Regions from separate parts of the Homo sapiens genome. Here region 2 is linked to region 1. Evidence: promoter capture Hi-C in 16 types of primary human blood cells and fetal thymus (Javierre and others, 2016). All regions are on one chromosome and are shown on one strand. Each heading gives the region's core, a stretch centred on a gene start or on the middle of the fragment in contact. The rest is flanking DNA. Distances are from core to core; before and after follow the strand shown. Region 1 holds the start of CLPS (colipase). Region 2 has its middle 12 kb from the start of LINC03135.

Region 1 (5,609 bases), core at 2,575-5,074:
TCCATGCTTCCTGCCTTCGAATACGGTGAGAACGTGAAGTCATGAGCTGCTGCTAAGGCATGTGGCAACCTTGAAGAGAAGGTCAAGAGCTACCAGCCACCAAAAGAATGCCAGCACTTCCTGTGTCTTTGCTTTGGATTCATGAGAAATATACGTTCCTATTTGCTTCAGCCATAATTACTTGGGTTTTTCTGCTACTCACAGTTGAATGCAATCCTAACTCATAAGCCTGTGGTTACAGGAGGATTCATTGATCACAGAACTGCAAGATCCTGGGGCTGGGACGACATCGAAGTTTCATTCAGTTCACTGTCCCTCACTCTCTGTGGGAATCTCCTCTCTAGCATCTCCACCGAGGGGTCAGTGAGCTTCCACCTGCGTACCTGGATGATGGGCACCTCAGTACTGCCTAAGGTAACTCATGTTTGATGGCTCCAGGGGATATACAATTTTTATATTAAGGCAAAATTAAATTCCTTGCAGTTTCCACCCATTTTTCTTAATGCGAATAATTGGGAAAGAAAAAGGAATCATAAGGCCGGGCACGGTGGCTCATACCTGTAATCCCAGCACTTTGGGAGGCTGAGGTGGTGGATCACCTGGGGTCAGGAGTTTGAGACCAGCCTGGCCAACACGATGAAACCCCGTCTCTACTAAAAACACAAAAATTAGCCGGGCGTGGTGGTAGGCGCCTGTAATCCCAGCTACTAGGGGAGGCTGGGGCAGGAGAATCGCTTGAACCTGGGAGGTGGAGGTTGCAGTGAGCCAAGAGATCACTCCGCTGCACTCCAGTCTGGGCAACAGAGAGAGACTCTGTTTCAGAAAAAAAAAAAAAAAGGAATCATAGAAGCAGGGCAGTGGAGTTAGATGGTAGAGTGCCAACATTTTCTGATTATGTGACATTGGGCAAGCTCCTCTCTGAAACTTGGTCTCTATCTATAAAGTGGAGATGAGAAATTCTCCCTCCTGGGATCCTTGTGAGCATTTGCTGGCAGAGAGTAAGCTCATAGCAATTGAGAGTGGTCTGACCCCTTAACACATGAGTTGTGTCAGCTAGCTGTCATATTTGAGAATTGTGTCCAGAAAAGAGGTGAGAGCCCAGGATTCTGATGCCTCTGATGCAGGGTGACGAACATGGGCCATTAAAACTCCTTACCCACAAGTGTGTGTGTGTGTGTGTGTGTGTGTGTGTGTGTATGTGCGCGCGCATGCACATGTGCCCGCTTGTCTCTTTGAGAACCGGAGGGACAAGGAGGGCATCCCAGGTAGGTGTGACTTCTCCCCAGAAATGGAGGGTTTCCTAGGCTGGCTGGGTCTCCTTCACAGCTTTGTCTTCAGTCTCCAATCTGTTTGGCCACAACTTCTTCAGCCCCAGACCCATCCCTTGTTCTTCTGACCTGCCTGAAGCCTGCCCTGGTGGACCAAAGGCCTGATGCAACTTCAGAGAAGATGCTGAGTCAGAAAGAATATGCAGGAGACTGGGAAAGGTTTGCAGGAGGCCTTTAATTGTGAAGAGCGCAATCAGAAAACAGATATGCTGGTCAAGGAGGTGGCCAGCCCGGGAGATGCGCTGGAGCAGGGGAGAGATGCCCCTGCGCCTAGTGGCCTACAGCATTCTGGGCTAGGTGTGGGAGTGGGTGGGCAGTCTCACTGCTTGGAGCGTCCAGCGTCATGGCAGATGCCAAAGTTGGTGTTGGTGATGGAGCCCACGATGGTCTTGTCTCCCTCACAGGTCAGGCCACGCTCACAGGGACACTTGTAGTAAATCCCATAGAGCGTCTGCAGAGACACAGCCAATGGAGTCAAGGCTATGGGGAGATACTTTGGACATCACTTGTCCCCTGCCTGACCTAGAGAACCAGTAGGCCAGCCTGTGTTTTCGGGGAGTGCCTCTCCCACCTGCCTCCCCAGGGGTGCCGTGGGCCCTGGAGACCCCAGCTCTGACCTCTGCTCTGGCTCATTTGCTCTTACTAGCTTGATCTCTCTGGGGAGCCTCTATTTACCCAGCCATGAAATGGGGATAACAAATCCCCACCCCCACCCATCTCACTGGTCACTCGGGAGGGTCAAGAGAGATGATGGGATGGGAAAGTGCTTTGACACCTGTCGACCTCCCTCTCGTCTCCTCAACATTCAGTGTCCAGGCTGACCCCCCTCCCTGATCCCACTCACAAGTGTTCAGGGCCCTACTCCCCATTCTCCCCCACCCACGCCAAGTCCTCAGGCACCCACCTTGACAGAGCACTCGCTGTTCTCGCTGGCCATGGATGTGCAGCGGGCCAGGCCCAGCGCACTTGAATGCTGGCAGCAATTGCTCTTACACTGGGCACTATTCATGCAGAGCTCACCGTTCTCCTGCCAGGAGCAGCCAGTCAGCCCAGGCCCCACTCCCTCAGGTCCCTTCTCCATTCAGACCTGTACCCACCACACACTACCACTAACAGTGTCTCCCCTGGTAGGGATGTGTGTGAAGGAGTCCATCCCCTGGGTCTGGTGGCCTCTGTGCCCCCCACCCACGTGAGAAGTGGGCATGCGGTGACAGAGAAGCAGACTTGCACAGAGGGTCAGGACCCCTGGGTTCTAGTACCGGCTGTGCTACCAACCTCCTGTGTGACTCTGGGCAAGTCACTGCCTCCCAAGCCTCAGTGTTCCCATTTGGAATGTGCACACAAGGCCCCTAGACAAGTTCTCCAAACCACTCTGGGTCCCACACCTCTTTAAGGAGGCGGTGAAGATTGCATCTCCCTGCAAGACTCCTTCCTCCCCCAACAGATCTGATCTATAATCTCCAAGGGTCCTGGACCTCCAAGTCCAGCCATGGCCCCAAGTTAAGAGAGTTCAGAACCTTTCAACCGCATGGACGTTCTGGAAGGGCTTTCCCAGCCAAGACCCATGGTGGAGAGGTGGTGTGGGGCAGTGGTGGGGCCCCAGCTGAACCACTTTCCAGCTATGTGACCTCAGGCAGGTTGCTCACCCTCTCTCTGTCTGAAGACAGGGCTGACTCTGAAAACACCTCCCTCAGTGGTTATTATGAGAACAGAATGAGTAAACATCTCCGAGGCATCTCCATAAGTCAGAAGCTGGAATGATTGGCGCAAAGCATTTTCTCAGGATGGAAGCCCAGGGCTCTGGATTTTTACAAAGCTCCCTCGTAGGGCCAGGTGAGGTGGCTCATGCCTGTAATCCCAGCACTTTGGGAGGCCGAGGTGGGCGGATCACGAGGTCAGGAGTTTGAGACTAGCCTGGGCAACATGGTGAAACCCTATTTCTACTAAAAATACAAAAAATAGCTGAGCGTTATGGCAGGCACCTGTAATCCCAGCTTCTTGGGAGGCTGAGGCAGGAGAATCATTTGAACCCGGGAAGCAGAGATTGCAGTGAGCCGAGATTGTGCCACTACACTCCAGCCTGGTGACAGAGCAAGACTCCGTTTCAAAAAGAAAAAAAAGAAAAAAAAGGTCCCTCATAGCCAGGTTGAGCTGCTGCTCTGAGCATGCTCCAGTTGGAGCTGGAGAGGGGCTGATCAGCCTTTCCTGTGGCCTCTGGGAAGAGGCATAGGACAGGACATGGAAGTAAACAGAGGGATGCAAGATGCCACTCCTCCCAGCCCCTGCCAGTCCAGGTGGAGACATCAGAGGTCAAGGTCCAAGCTTAGGAAGTCTTCATCTGGGGACTCAGGAGGCGCCTCCCCTGAAGACCCTCTTACCAGGTTGATAATGATCCCCCGGGGGCCAGGAGCTGCATAGGCCACAGAGAGGGCGACAAGCAGGAGGATCAGGATCTTCTCCATGGTGAGTGGGACAGCTGGTGTGGGTGGCGGGAGACAGAGCCAGCTGTGGTGATGGGGCTATAAAAGGGGCCCTGACCTCACGAGATCCACCTGCATCCCACAGGGCTGGCCGTGGGCAGAGGCACAGCTGTGGCCAATCTGCTGTGGGGCGGTTCCTGATAAGGAAACTGGGTGAGTACCTGGTGGCCTTTTTCGTGTGTGTGTGTGTGTGTGTGTGTGTGTGTGTGTGTGTGTTGGTGATAATTGTGTTGCATCGTGGTTAAGAGTATGGACTGTGTACAAGTTATTAGTGAGGCAAACTTACTATCTGTTCCAACTATTCTGCCTTTCATCTTATCTGTCAACTAAGGATAATTTAAAGAGTTGTGAGGGTTGAATTAATACACATTTATGTGTTACATATATATAAACATTATTATATACAATTATAAGAATATATTTATATTGTATATTCCCATATGCCACATAAGCAGTGGGTAAGGGTGGCTGCCCTTGTGTCTTGAGCTCCTGGGCAGTGCCTGGACGAATCCAAGGCAAGAGAGGCACCTATGGTGTGAGTGCCTGCTTACATTCTGTGTACTTGGGGCCTCTCTGCCTCACTATAGTCAGGCCTTGCCTTTGGCCCACCCAAGCCCAGGTGTCTAGCAGTGTCAGACTCCAGGGACGAGGATCCTAGCCTCCCACCCCTCAACCTTCCTTCAGTCTCCTCGGGGGATTCCAGGCCATGCCCAGATCCCTGGGGCTGACAGTTCTGCAACCCCCAGCAGGCCAGGGTGTGTGTGCTTTCACTTTGGCACCCTCCCCCTGCCCTCACACCAGGGGCTGCCTGCAGGCCTGACTCAAGGGCCCTTAGGAGGCCCTTCCTAAATGCCTCTCTCCCCTTTCCTTTCTACCTCACTTACTATCTGCAATTCCAGCATCAGATACTCACCCCTTTAGTTAAGGTTTCCACTCACGCTGCCCCCTACCCAAGGCCACGTGCGCGCGTGAGCAGTCGCTAGTCCTGGCTGAGAATGAAGAGGTCTCATGAGCCTCAGATGGAGCAGGGGCCTCAGGAAGCTGGGAAGGGCACAGCTGCCTGAGTTTGCTCAGGCATGGGAACAGAGCAGCTTTTCCTGAAGGACTAGTCATGGCAGCCAGAGGCCCCTGCCCTTCCCCTCTCCATCCCAGGAGGTAGAAGACAGCTCCACTGAGAGGCCCAGGCCTCAAGCACAGCTTTTAATTTAATTTAATTTAATTTTTTGAGACAAGGTCTCACTCTGTCACCTAGGCCGAAGTGCAGTTGTGCCATCTTGGCTCACTGCAGCCTCCACCTCCTGAGATCAAGCAATCTTCCCCCTAAGCCTCCCAGGTCTAAAACTCGTGGGCTCAAGCAATCTTCCCACCTCGGCCTCCTAAAGTGTTGGGATTACAGGTGTGAGCCACTGTGCCCAGCCTCAAGCACAGCTTTGATCCAGACCAAGCTGGCTTCAAAATTCAGCATTTACTGGAGCTACGTGGCCTCAGACACATTATTGAAAGTGAAGCTCCCTGAACCTCACTTTCCTTATTTATCTTAGGGGGATAACGCCTCCTACTTCCTGAGGTCATGATTAAGACAATGCACGTGGAACACCTTCGGAAGTGCCTGGCACATGGTGGGTGCCCAGCCATGTAATATGACCCCCTTCCTCTCACCTTTACATCCCTGGGGTGTGGAATGTAGAGAAATAGCTGGAGGAACAACCAGGAGACTCTCAAAATGAGAAAAACCAATTTGGTTCCAGCGATGCAGAAATACCATTGATGAAAGAACACTATCCCCCCTCTCTTTTATAGA
Region 2 (6,075 bases), core at 1,278-3,777, 270 kb before region 1:
TCCTGACCTCAGGTGATCCACCCACCTCGGCCTCCCAAAGTGCTGGGATTACAGGCATGAGCCACTGCGCCTGGCCAGACTTGACTTTTCTTTCTTTTTTTTTGTTTTTCTTTTTTTTTTTTTTTTTTTTTGAGATGAAGTCTCGCTCTTGTGCCCCAGGCTGGAGTGCAGTGGTGCGATCTCGGCTCACTGCAACCTCCGCCTCCTAGCTTCAAGCGATTCTCCTGCCTCAGCTTCCCAAGTAGCTGGTATTACAGGCATGCACCACCACACCCAGCTAATTTTTGTATTTTTAGTAGAGATGGGGTTTCACCATGTTGGCCAGTTTGGTCTCAAACTCCTGACCTCAGGGGATCCGCCCGCCTCAGCTTCCCAAAGTGCTGGGATTACAGGTGTGAGCCACCGTGCCCGGCCACAGACTTAACTTTTTTTTTTCTTTTGAGATGGGGTTTCGCTCTTCTTGCCCAGGCTGGAGTGCAATGGCGCGGTCTCGGCTCACCGCAACCTCCGCCTCCCAGGTTCAAGCGATTCTCCTGCCTCAGCCTCCCTTGTAGCTGGGATTACAGGCATGTGCCACCATGCCCGGCTAATTTTGTATTTTTAGTAGAGACGGGGTTTCTCCATATTCGTCAGGCTGGTCTCGAACTCCTGACCTCAGGTGATCCACCCGCCCTGGCCTCCCAAAGTGCTGGGATTACAGGCATGAGCCACTGCGCCCGGCCCAGACTTGACTTTCATAGTGTCTCTCCAGCAGGCTCTAGAGCAGGAGTCTCTCTAAATGTGGTTGTCCATCGGAATTATTTGGGGCTGGGCAAGGTGTCTCACTTCTATAATCCCAGCACTTTGGGATGCTGAGGTGGATGGATCACTTGAGCTCACAAGTTTGACACCATCCTTGGCAACAGGTGAAACCCTGCCTCTACAAAAAATACAAAATTAGCCAGGCATGGTGGTGCGCACCTGTAGTCTCAGGTACTCAGGAGACTGAGGTGAGAGGATCACTTAAGCCCAGGAGGCAGAGGTTACAGTGAGCTGAGATAATACCACTGTACTCCAGCCTGGGCAACAGAGCCAGACCTTGTCACAAAAAAAATAAATAAATAAAAGAAAAAAATTACAGGGAAGATTTCTTTTTTATTAAAACCTTTATGTGAAGTAAAACATACTTATTGCAGAGAAGTGCATAAAACATAAATGTACAAGTTAATGCATTACTATGAAGCCAACTCCTTTGTAACCTCAACTAGGTCAAGAAATAGATATTGTCAGGTGCCAAAAGCCTCATCCTTTTCCTCACCTTCAAAGGCACCACCACCCTGATTTCTATGGGTATGTGGATTAGTTTTGCCTGCTTTGGAGTGTTATATAAATGGAATTATACATTAATTTTTAAAATTTATTTTTAATTTTTATTGCCTTAATTAATTTTTAAACATTTTATTATTATTTTTTAGAGACAGGGTCTCACTCTGTTGTCCAGGCTGGAGTGCAGCGGCACGATCATAACTCGCTGCAGTCTCAAATTCCTGGACTCAAGTGATCCTACTGCCTCAGCCTCCCAAGTACCTAGGACTACAGGTGCCAGCCATACACCTGGCTACTCCCTATTATTTTTTATTTTACTTTTATTTATTTACTTATTTTGAGACAGAGTTTTGATCTTGTTGCCCAGGCTGGAGTGCAATGGCGTGATCTTGGCTCACCGCAACCTCCGCCTCCCAGGTTCAAGTGATCTTTCCGCCTCAGCTTCCTAAGTAGCTGGGATTACAGGTCTGTGCCAACACGCCCAGCTAATTTTGTATTTTTAGTAGAGACGGGGTTTCTCCATGTTGGTCAGGCTGGTCTCGAACTCCTGACCTCAGATGATCTGCCTGCCTTGGCCTCCCAAAGTATTGGGATTACAGGCATGAGCCACCGCGCCCGGCCTATTTTATTTATTTATTATTTATTTATATTACTTTTTGAGACAGTGTTTCACTCAGTCACCCAGGCTGGAGTGCAGTGGTATGATCATGGCTCACTGCAGCCTCAACCTCTCAGGCTCAAGTGATCCTCCCATCTCAGCCTCCTGAGTAACTGGGACCACAGGTGTGTGCCCAGCTGATTTTTTGAACTTTTTTAGAGACAGGGTTTCCCTATGTGGCCCAGGCTGGTCTCAAACTCCTAGACTCAAGTAATCCTCCTGCCTTGGGTTCCCAAGATGCTGGGATTACAGGTGTTAGCCCCTACACCTAACCCTATATTATTTTTTATAAGCTTTATTCTTTTGCTTTTCGTATTGAAGACTATAGCCCACCTGGAATTTATCTGTTGATGGTGTGAGGTAAGGGTCAGGTTTCATTTTTTTCCCCATAGGAGCACACTCAGTTGATTTACTGAAAAGTTTACTCTTTCCCTGTGTGTGTGCTTTTTTGTTTTTTGTTTTTTGTTTGTTTGTTTGTTTTAAGACAGGCTCTTGCTTTGTAACCCAGGCTGGAGTACAGTGGTGTGATCTTGGCTCACTGCAACCTCCACCTCTCGGGTTCAAGCGATTCTCCTGCCTCAGCCACCTGAGTAGCTGGGATTATAGGCGTGCACCACCACACCTAGCTAATTTTTGTAATTTTAGTAGAGACAGGGTTTTACCATGTTGTCCAGGCTGTCTCAAACTCCTGACTTCAGGTGATCCACCCGCTTCGGCTCCCAAAGTGCTGGGATTACAGGTGTAAGCCACCGCACCTGGCCTTCTGTAGTGTTCTTTGCAAATATTTTGTTACATTCATTCCTGTGTAATCGATTTATCATTTGATGCTATTCAAGAAGCTTATTTAAAGCCCAGGTTCTTGGCCAGGTGCGGTGGCTGACACCTGTAATCCAGCACTTTGGGAGGCTGAGGTGTGTGGATCACCTGAGGTCAGGAGTTCGAGACCAGCCCAGCCAACATGGTGAAACCCCGTCTCTACTAAAAGTACAAAAATTAACCGGGCATGGTGCTGCGTGCCTGTAATCCCAGCTACCTGGGGGGCTGAGGCAAGAGAATCACTGGAACCCAGGAGGCTGAGGCTGCAGTGAGCCGAGATTGAACCACCGCACTTCAGCTTGGGCGACAGAGCAAGACTCCATCTAAAAATAATAATAATAATAATAATAATAATAATAAAACCAAGGTTCTGACTGGGCATGGTGGCTCATGCCTGTAATCCCAGCACTTTGGGAGGCTGAGGCAGGCAGATCACCTAAGGCCAGGAGTTCAAGACCAGCCTGGCCAACATGGTAAAACCTCATCTCTACAAAAATACAAAAATTAGCCAGGCATGGTGGCAGGTGCCTGTAATCCCAGCTACAAGGAAGGCTGAGGCAGGAGAATCACTTGAACCTGGGAGGTGGAGGTTGCAGTGAGTTGAGATCACGCCACTGCACTCCAGCCTGAGCGACAGAGCAAGACTCTGTTTCAAAATACATAAATAAATAAAATAAAGCCCAGGTTCTCTGGCTCAACATTTGGAGAGTCTAAGTGAGTAGTTCTGGAGTGAGCCCAGATGGGAATTTTGAAAAAGCTCCTGGTGGTTCTGATGTGCAGATCCCATCCTGTCTTGCTGCACTCATTATCTCTTTTCAATCCCCTTCAGTCCCCCTCCCTCCCAGCTGGCCCACGCCCATAAGCCTGTGAACATGCTTAGTCTCCGTGTCTTAGAATAAACCTCCCCAAACCCCTCCAGGTCCTGGCATCGCCTTTTTCTCCCATTAATAGCCATACTTTTAAGGGTTGACCACACCTGTGCTTTCATATTTTTATACTCCTTATAAAACCATGCAGCCCTTCACACAGTTTAAAATTGACATCTAATTCAAACCATCCTTACCCACACCTACTCCCCCCTCTGGTCTACCAGGCAGTCTCTCTTCTTCTACCAGCTTATACCCCTCCAGCCTCTGCAAAACAGTTGTGTGTGTGTGTGCGTGTGTGTGTGTCTTTTGTTTTGTTTTTAGAGATAAGGTTTTGTTCTGTCGCCCAGGCTGGAGGACAGAGGTGTGATCATAGCTCGTTGCAGCCTCAATCCCCTGGGATCAAGCGATCCTCCTACCTCAGCCTCTCGAGTAGCTGGGAATACAGGTGTATGCCACCATGCCTGGATAATTTTTAATTTTTTAATTTTAGATTTTTTTGTAGAGAAGGGGTCTAGCTATGTTGCCCAGGCTGGCCTCAAACTCCTGGCCTCAAGCAATCCTCCCACCTCCACCTTCCAAAGTGCTAGGATTATAGGCGTGAGCCACCATTCCTGGCCTGAATGATCTATTTCCATCCCTGGATTATTTCTCTTTTTCTTATTGGTGTGTAGGAGCTCTTTGTAATAATATAGATATTAACTTATCTGTCACATGGATTTCAAATGTCTTCCCATTTTATTATTCCCTTTGACTTTGATGAAGGTATCTTTTGCTATATACAGTTTTAAATGTTTATGTAATTTTATATGTGTATCTCTTCTCCTATAGCTCTGGTTTTCTGGTCTTAGTTTGAAATATTTTATATACTCTGGCCGGGCACAGTGGCTCACCCCTGTAATCCCAGCACTTTGAAAGGCTGAGGTGGGTGGATCACCTCAGGTCAGGAGTTTGAGACCAGCCTGACCAACATGGCGAAACCCTGTCTCTACTAAAAATACAGAAATTAGCTGGGCATGGTGGTGGGCGCCTGTAATCCCAGCTACTCGGGAGCCTGAGACAGGTGGATCGCTTGAACCCGGGAGGCGGAGGTTGCAGTAAGCTGAGATGTGCCATTGCACTCCAGCCTGGGCAACAGAGAGAGGCTCTATCTCAAAAAATTATATATATTTTATATACTCTGAATATTGTTTACATTTATATGTTTAAAGCATTTGAAATTTATTTTCACGATTTTGGTGAGAAGTAGGGATTCCACCTCATTTTCCTCCTAGTGGGACAGCAAGTTGGGTCAACATCACTTATTAAAGAAAGTATCGGGCTGAGTGTGATGGCCCACCCCTGTAGTCCCAGCACTTTGGGATGCTGAGGTGGACAAACTGCTTGAGCCCAGGAGTTTGAGACCAGCCTGGCGATATAGTGAGACCTCGTTTCTACAAACAATATAAGCATTAGCAGGGTGTAGTGGCACACACCTGTAGTCCCAGCTACTTGGAAGCTGACGATCGCTTGAGCTGAGAAGGCCAAGGGTAGAGTGAGCCATGATTGTGCCACTGCACTCCAGCCTTGGCAACAGAGGATGATGCCCTGTCTGAAAGAAAAGAAAATCGCAAATAAATAAAGTATCATCCTTCCTCACAGAATTAAAATTCAACCATTGTTTTTTGTTGTTATTTAGACACACGGTCTCGCTCTGCCACTCAGGCTGCTGGAGTACAGTGGCCTGACCATAGCTCACTGCAAACTTGAACTTCTGCCTCAAGCGATCCACCCGCCTCAACCTCCCAAAGCACTGGGATTACAGGCGTGAGCCACTGTGCCTGGCTTCCACCATTGTTATATATTACATCAACTGTCTGTTGGGATCTGTTCCTCTTCTGTTTCACTGACATTTTCATCATTTTCTTGACCATTCTTAGAAAGGTGTTGGCAGGGATCAGAGTCTGAAAACTTTGTCTCTCCTCGTACCCTTGGCCAGACAGGAATCTGTGCTGAAGGTGGTAGCCAAGATTAGAGTGTGCTCCTGGCAAGACCCCCTCCTCCTGCCTGTATGGGGTTGTTTTTGCATTGCATGATCACATGCACGCCTCTGCACTCTGCTTTTCTCCCTCACAACCTTGGCAGCCCCTCAGCCCCACCACCACTCTGCTGCAGACACGGGACTAATCTCATTACTGTCTTTATCCCTGTTCACATCGCCCATCACAAGAAGCCCAGATCCCTGCTCAGCCCTCCTCCCTGCATCTAATCCCCATCTGGCTCTGCTTCCCTTCTCCCCACCCCCAGCTACTGAAACTCTCTGCCAAGTCCCCGGAACTCAGGCACGGGAGGTCTTCTTTGAACTCTTCCTTCGCCTTCTGGCTCTTCTGACACTGCTTCCCCTACTGTGAGCCCAGGTGGTGACTGTTTTCCCTCCCTCCCTCCCTCCCC

The links. Contacts are between HindIII fragments. The CHiCAGO score rates a contact against its expected background, and 5 or more counts as called.
Region 2: a contact is called between a fragment that was not itself captured here and the fragment with the promoter of CLPS in region 1, in 1 of 17 cell types (M1 macrophages). The highest score is 5.3, in M1 macrophages.

The regions. Positions count from the first base shown.
Region 1 is chr6:35,793,499-35,799,107 of GRCh38, forward strand. CLPS (colipase) reads right to left here and starts at 3,825. Exons shown (of 3, transcript NM_001832.4): 1 at 3,707-3,825; 2 at 2,233-2,355; 3 at 1,484-1,779. The coding sequence starts at 3,790. The coding sequence ends at 1,648. It also overlaps a transcript of CLPSL1 not described here. The HindIII fragment of the contact is 2,191 bases long and covers 3,649-5,609 here.
Region 2 is chr6:35,528,718-35,534,792 of GRCh38, forward strand. No RefSeq gene overlaps it. Among named protein-coding and RNA genes, the nearest start is that of LINC03135, 12 kb to the right of the region's middle. The HindIII fragment of the contact is 546 bases long and covers 2,255-2,800 here.